Regions from separate parts of the Homo sapiens genome. Here region 2 is linked to region 1. Evidence: promoter capture Hi-C in 16 types of primary human blood cells and fetal thymus (Javierre and others, 2016). All regions are on one chromosome and are shown on one strand. Each heading gives the region's core, a stretch centred on a gene start or on the middle of the fragment in contact. The rest is flanking DNA. Distances are from core to core; before and after follow the strand shown.

Region 1 (3,194 bases), core at 609-3,108:
CCAAAGGGTCGCTTGAGCACATAAGTTTGAGGCTGCAGTGAGCTATGGTCACACCAAAACATTCCAGCCTAGGTAACAGGGTGAGACCCTGACTCAAACAACAACAAACGTAAAGACACTTTTTCTTTTTTTTGAGACGGTGTTTCGCTCTTGTAGCCCAGGCTGGAGTGCAATGGTGCGCAACCTCGGCTCACCGCAATCTCCACCTCCCGGCTTCAAGCGATTCTCCTGCCTCAGCCTCCTGAGTAGCTGGGAATACAGGCATGTGCCACCACACCTAGCTAATTTTGTATTTTTAGTAGAGACGGGGTTTCTCCATGTTGGTCAGGCTGGTCTCGACCTCCTGACCTCAGGCGATCTGCCCGCCTCGGCCTCCCAAAGTGCTGGGATTACAGGGGTGAGCTACCGCGCCCGGCCAAGACACTTATTTAAGACAGCCTTCCCCTTCTTCTTTTTTTTTTTTTTTTTTTTTTGAGACGGAGTCTCGCTCTGTTGCGCAGGCTGGAGTGCAGTGGCGCGATCTCAGCTCACTGCAAGCTCCGCCTCCCGGGTTCACGCCATTCTCCTGCCTCAGCCTCCCGAGTAGCTGGGACTACTGGGACTACGGGCGCCAGTCACCACGCCCGGCTATTTTTGTATATTTGGTAGAGATGGGGTTTCACCGTGTTAGCCAGGATGGTCTCAATCTCCTGACCTCGTGATCTGCCCACCTCGGCCTCCCCAAGTGCTGGGATTACAGGCGTGAGCCACCGCGCCCGGCCGCCTTCCCCTTCTTGATAAGGCTCCCCCTCTTTTACTGTCTCACAGCCTCAAGTGTTTCCCTTCATAATTTCCATACGCGCTTCATGGATTGTTTAATGTGCGCCTCCCCCATCAGGCTGTCAGTTCCATCCCAGCAGCAACGACTGTTCTGGGCTCTTTTTTTTTTTTTTTTTTTGAAACGGAGTCTCCCTCTGTCACCCAGGCTGGAGTGCAATGGTGTGATCTCAGCTCACTGCAACCTCCGCCTGCCGGGTTCAAGCGATTCTCATGCCTCAGCCTCCGGAGTGGCTGAGAGTACAGGCGCGCGCCGCCACGCTCGGCTAATTTTTGTATTTTTAGTAAAGACGGGGTTTCACCATGTTGGCCAGGCTAGTCTCGAACCCCTGACCTCAGGTGATCCGCCCGCCTCGACCTCCCAAAGCGCTGGGATTACAGGCGTGAGCCTCCGCGCCTGGCCCTGGGCTATTACAGCACATCCTCAGCATCTAGTACAGTGGCTGCTAAATACGTATTTCGTGATCAGGTATACTAATCCTTTAACACCAAGTTCGGAATTAACTCACATGCTTCAAAGCACACCGAGAAATACAAACTGTTTTACAGAACAGCTTAAGATGACGGTCTCGGTGCGCCTGGACCGGCATCAGCTGTTTAGTTAATTTTAAGAAATCAAGGAATGGCTGGCTTACAGCAGGATTGCACCCAGCTGGCCCATCCTTCCTCCCGTGCCCCCACCCGCCCCTAGGGGATTAAAACCAAGGGAGCTAAAACCCCAGGTTGGCAACCGTGAGGTATTGGTGCTCAGCAAATCCACCCGAGGCCGCGACACTCGCAGCGCTCCCGGGGGCGAACGCAAGGCCACACTGTCCAGCTCCCGCTCCAGCCCAGACTGGGCTTCTCCAGGCCACGCGGGGCCTGATCCTGGGGCCCACTGCGGCTGCGGAGCTTTCCCCCCAGTCTGCGGGCCCAGCCGCTCTCCTAGCACCGCAGAGCTCTCCGAGGGCGGCCTACCTCTCCTAGGGTCGCCGTCCCCAGCTCCTCCCTCAGAGTCCCCCGCCAAGGGCCCGCTGCACCTATTCCCGCAGACGCGCAGCTGTACCGGCCTCAGACCACGACCTACCACAACCCGCCACGCTCCGTCCAATCAGAGCGCGCCGACGGAAAGTGCCCCGCCGCGCCTTACCTCATGAGATATTATTGGTCAACCAACATGCCAGTCAAACTGAGGACGAATCCGTTCATTAGTGGATTCCTGGGAAGGCGGCTCTAACTTGGCTGATGCAACTGCGAGAAAAGGTGGGATGGGGTGCGTCACATGATCGAGTTAGACCCCCCCCCGCCCCCCCCGCCCCCCCCCGCCCCCGGCTCCCGGAGGTCGACATTTTGGTTTCCATAGGCAAAGTCCTAACACCACAATTGACATAGTTAAAAAGGGGAGACGGTAACGTGTTTGGTAGAGGTTACATATCTTGCTATAGTTGTTTATTTTAGTTGCTGAGTGATACACAGCCCTCAAAGAGTCTGACATTGTGCCCATGGTTACACTTGTCCGGGGGAGACCTTGAATTTGGTGTGGAAGAAATAACATCAGTAGTTCAGGTACGATTGGATCAGCATCTGGTCCTCGATTTGCCTTTGGAAAAAAAAAAGTTAATATTTATAGGCCTGGGGGAGGAGGGTGAATATATATATATACATATACATATATACATGCCAGGTGCGGTGGCTCACGCCTATAATTGCAACACTTTGGGAGGCCAAGGTGGGAAGATCACCTGAACCCAGGAGTTGGAGACCAGCCTGGTCAACATAACTAGACCCTGTCTCTACGAAAAATTTTTTAAAAGGCCGGGCGCGGTGGCCCACACCTGTAATCCTAGCACTTTGGGAGGCTGAGGCCAACGGATGACGAGGTCAGGAGACCGAGAGCATCCTGGCCAACATGGTGAAACCCCGTCTCTACTAAAAACACAAAATTAGCCGGGCGCGCATCTGTAGTCCCAGCCACTCGGGAGGCTGAGGCAAGGGAATCCCTTGACCTCGGGAGGCGGAAGTTGCGGTGAGCCGAGATGGCGCCACTGCACTCCAGCCTGGCTACGGAGCAAGACTCCGTCTCAAAAAAAAAAATAAAAAATAAAAATTAGCCAGGCATAGTGGCGCATGCTTGTAGTCCCAGCTACTTGGGAGGTTGAAGTGGGAGGATCACTTGAGCCTAGGAAGTTGAGGCTGCAGTGAGCCCTGATCGTGACACTGCATTCCTTGGGCGACAGAGCGAGGCCCTGTCTGAAAAATATGTATGTATTTATACGTGAGGCATTGCATCAAACATTTCACATGCTTATTTCATTTGATTTTTAAACTGTGTATGAGGTCAGCTGGAGTCCCCTTTTTACAAATGAGGAAATTACCTTGCACAAGTTCACACCCAATAG
Region 2 (3,271 bases), core at 516-3,015, 130 kb before region 1:
GCCTTGATGTTAGCATCAGGTAAATGAGGACAAGAGTGCCCTGAGAATGAAAACTTTATAGGATAAAATATCTTCAAATGAAAACATAATAATGGTGGCTCACGCCTGAATCCCAGCACTTTGGGAGGCTGAGGCGGGTGGATCACCTGAGGTCAGGAGTTCGAGACCAGCCTGGCCAACATGGCAAAACCCGTCTCTACTAAAAATACAAAAAGTAGGCCGGGCACGGTGGCTCACACCTGTAATCCCAACACTTTGGGAGGCCAAGGCGGGCGGATCACAAGTTCAGGAGATCGAGATCATCCTAGCTAACACAGTGAAACCCCGTCTCTACTAAAAATACAAAAAATTAGCCGGGTGTGGTTGCGGGCGCCTATAGTCAGGAGAATGGCGTGAACCCAGGAGGCAGAGGTTGCAGTGAGCCGAGATCACGCCACTGCACTCCAGCCTGGGCGACAGAGCGAGACTCCGTCTCAAAAAAAAAAAAATTTACAAAAAGTAGCTGGGCGTGGTGGCCAGCACCTGTAGTTCCAGCTACTCGGGAGGCTGAGGCAGGAGAATCACTTGAACCTAACAGGCAGAGGTTGCAGTGAGCCAAAATCGCACCACTGCACTCCAGCCTGTGTGACAGGGCAAGACTCCGTCTCAGAAAAAAGAAAACATAGTAAATAGATGACACTTGGTCAGGTGCGGTGGCTCACAACTGTAATCCTAGCACTTTGGGAGGCCAAGGCAGGAGGATCACTTGAGCTCAGCCTGGGCAATACAGCAAGACCTTGTCTCTGAATTACAATTGAAAAACAAACAAAAAAACCCACTTATTTCTAGTGTTCTGCTGTCTAAAAGACTGAGTGCTTTCTGGGAAGCTATTCTGAGTTAATTATGGTGATGCATTAACATGCCACGAATATTTGTACAAACTAGTCGTCCTATAGTCAGCTGCCTAATTTTTGTGGTTTTTTTCTTTTGTTTTTGATTTTGAGGTGGGGTCTCATTCTGTCACCCAGGTTGGAGTGCAGTGGCGCGATGTTGGCTCACTGCAATGCCCTCTCATGCTCAAGTGATCCTCCCACTTCAGCCTCCCAAGTGGCTGGGACCACAGATGCACAACCATGCCCAGCTAATTTTTTTGTATTTTGGTAAAGACAGAGTTTCACCACATTGGCCAGGGTGGTCTCGAACTCCTGAGCTCAGGTGATCCGCCCTCCTCGGCCTCCCAGAGTGCTGGGATTACAGGCGTGAGACAGCACACCCGGCCTAATTTTTTTGGTTTTTTTGTTTTGGGCGGATCACCTGAGTTCACAAGTTCGAGACCAGCCCGGCCAACATGGTGAAACCCCGTATCTGCTAAAAATATAAAAATTAGCTGGGCATGGTGGCAGGCACCTGTAATCCCAGCTACTCGGTAGGCTGAGGCAGGAGAATTGCCTGAACCTGGGAGGCAGAGGTTGCAGTGAGCCGAGATCATACCATTGTACTCCCACCTGGGTGACAGAGCAAGGCTCCATCTCCAAAAAAAAAAAAGGTAATAACCCATTTTGGAAAATATAAAGAAGGAAATTAAAATCACCCATATTTTGTCTATTTAATGGTAGTAACTATTTTTTTTTTCTTTCTTGAGACGGAGTTTCGTTCTTGTTGTCCAGGCTGGAGTGCAGTGGCGCGATCTCAGCTCACTGCAATCTCTGCCTCCTGGCTTCAAGCGATTCTCCTGCCTCAGTCTCCCGAGTAGCTGTAAGCCATCCAGCTAATTTTGTATTTTTTGTCTTTACCAAAATACAAAAAATTAGGTGGGTGTGGTGGCGCATCTGTGGGCCCAGCTACTTGGGAGGCTGAAGTGGGAGAATCACTTGAGCATGAGAAGGCATTTTTGTATTTTTTCTTTTTTTAGTAGAGATGGGGTTTCTCCAGGTTGGTCAGGCTGGTCTCGAACTCCTGACCTCAGGAGATCCCCCCGCCTTAGCCTCCCAAAGTGCTGGGATTACAGGCGTGAGCCACCGTGCCTGGCCATAATCACCGTTAATAGTTTATTCTAGTCTTATTTGTTGTACATATGTGTATATATGTGTGTATGCATTGAATATAGATGTGCATGGTCTTGTTGGGATTATATAAAAAAGTCTTTTTTTTTTTTTTTTTGAGACAGAGTTTTGCTGTGTCAACCGAGGCTGGACTGCAGTGGTGCAATCTTGGCTCACTGCAGCCTCTGCCACCCAGGTTCAAACGATTTTCCTGTCTCAGTCTCCCTAGAATTATAGGCACACTCCACCAGAATCTTGGCTCACTGCAGCCTCTGCCTCCCAGGTTCAAGTGATTTTCCTGTCTCAGCCTCCCAAGTAGCTAGAACTATAGGCACACTCCACCACACCCAGCTTATTTTTGTATTTTTAGTAGAGATGAGGTTTGCCTCATCTCTGTTCAAGGCGTGAGCCACCACGACTGGCCAATATAAAAACATTTTTCTAAAGTACTGGACTGATAAGGTATTTTATTAAGTGAGTGAGTTTTCTTCCTAAACGTTTTTGTTCTATCTGGTCTTGTGACTTTATGTTTATAAAATAGGAAACAAAATGCGTACCTCTGTTGTTACAAAAATTACCGCGGCGTCTTTTATATTTCACATGCAGTTTTTCACATGGTAGAAATCGCACAGTTTCCCAAAAGCTGGCAGGGTTGTGGGAGGAGGCGGCTGTGCCCCATTGCAGTGACACCAGGGGACCCTTCCCACGGTGCTGCTCTCTGTGCCGAGGGTCTGAGTGTCGCTGGATGACTCGGCGTTTCCTTTCTTTCTTAGGGCATGGATTTCATTGGTCGCGACGCCCTCCTGCAGCAGAAGCAGAATGGAGTGTATAAACGCCTCACCATGTTCATCCTGGACGACCATGATTCAGACCTAGACCTTTGGCCTTGGTGGGGAGAGCCCATTTACCGGAATGGGCAGTATGTTGGCAAGACCACCAGCAGTGCCTACAGCTACAGCCTGGAGCGCCACGTTTGCCTGGGCTTTGTGCACAATTTTTCTGAGGACACGGGGGAAGAGCAAGTGGTGACAGCAGATTTCATCAACCGGGGAGAGTATGAGATTGACATCGCGGGATACCGCTTCCAGGCCAAGGCCAAGCTCTACCCTGTCGCCTCCCTCTTCACCCAGAAGCGCCGAAAGGATGACATGGAGCTGAGTGACTTACATGGGAAGTGATGCCACCAGGGCAGCCTCACCTCCTCCCCATCATCTTGTCCTAGAGTGGGCGTCACCTTGGAGCTTCTCTTC

What was found. The method cuts DNA at HindIII sites, captures the fragments that hold promoters and counts their contacts. A CHiCAGO score of 5 or more calls a contact.
Region 2: a contact is called between a fragment that was not itself captured here and the fragment with the promoter of AARS1 in region 1, in 4 of 17 cell types (endothelial precursors, M2 macrophages, megakaryocytes and 1 more). The highest score is 11.9, in endothelial precursors.

What each region holds. Positions count from the first base shown.
Region 1 is chr16:70,287,648-70,290,841 of GRCh38, forward strand. It overlaps AARS1 (alanyl-tRNA synthetase 1), which reads right to left and starts at 1,859. Exons shown (of 21, transcript NM_001605.3): 1 at 1,774-1,859. It also overlaps a transcript of DDX19B not described here. RefSeq lists a silencer at 1,075-1,204. The HindIII fragment of the contact is 11,417 bases long and covers 1-3,194 here.
Region 2 is chr16:70,153,681-70,156,951 of GRCh38, forward strand. PDPR (pyruvate dehydrogenase phosphatase regulatory subunit) reads left to right here. Exons shown (of 19, transcript NM_017990.5): 19 at 2,795-3,271. The coding sequence ends at 3,199. It overlaps LOC400541 (a long non-coding RNA gene), which reads right to left. Exons shown (of 3, transcript NR_126007.1): 3 at 2,660-2,824. Among named protein-coding and RNA genes, the nearest start is that of CLEC18C, 18 kb to the right of the region's middle. The HindIII fragment of the contact is 7,311 bases long and covers 1-3,271 here.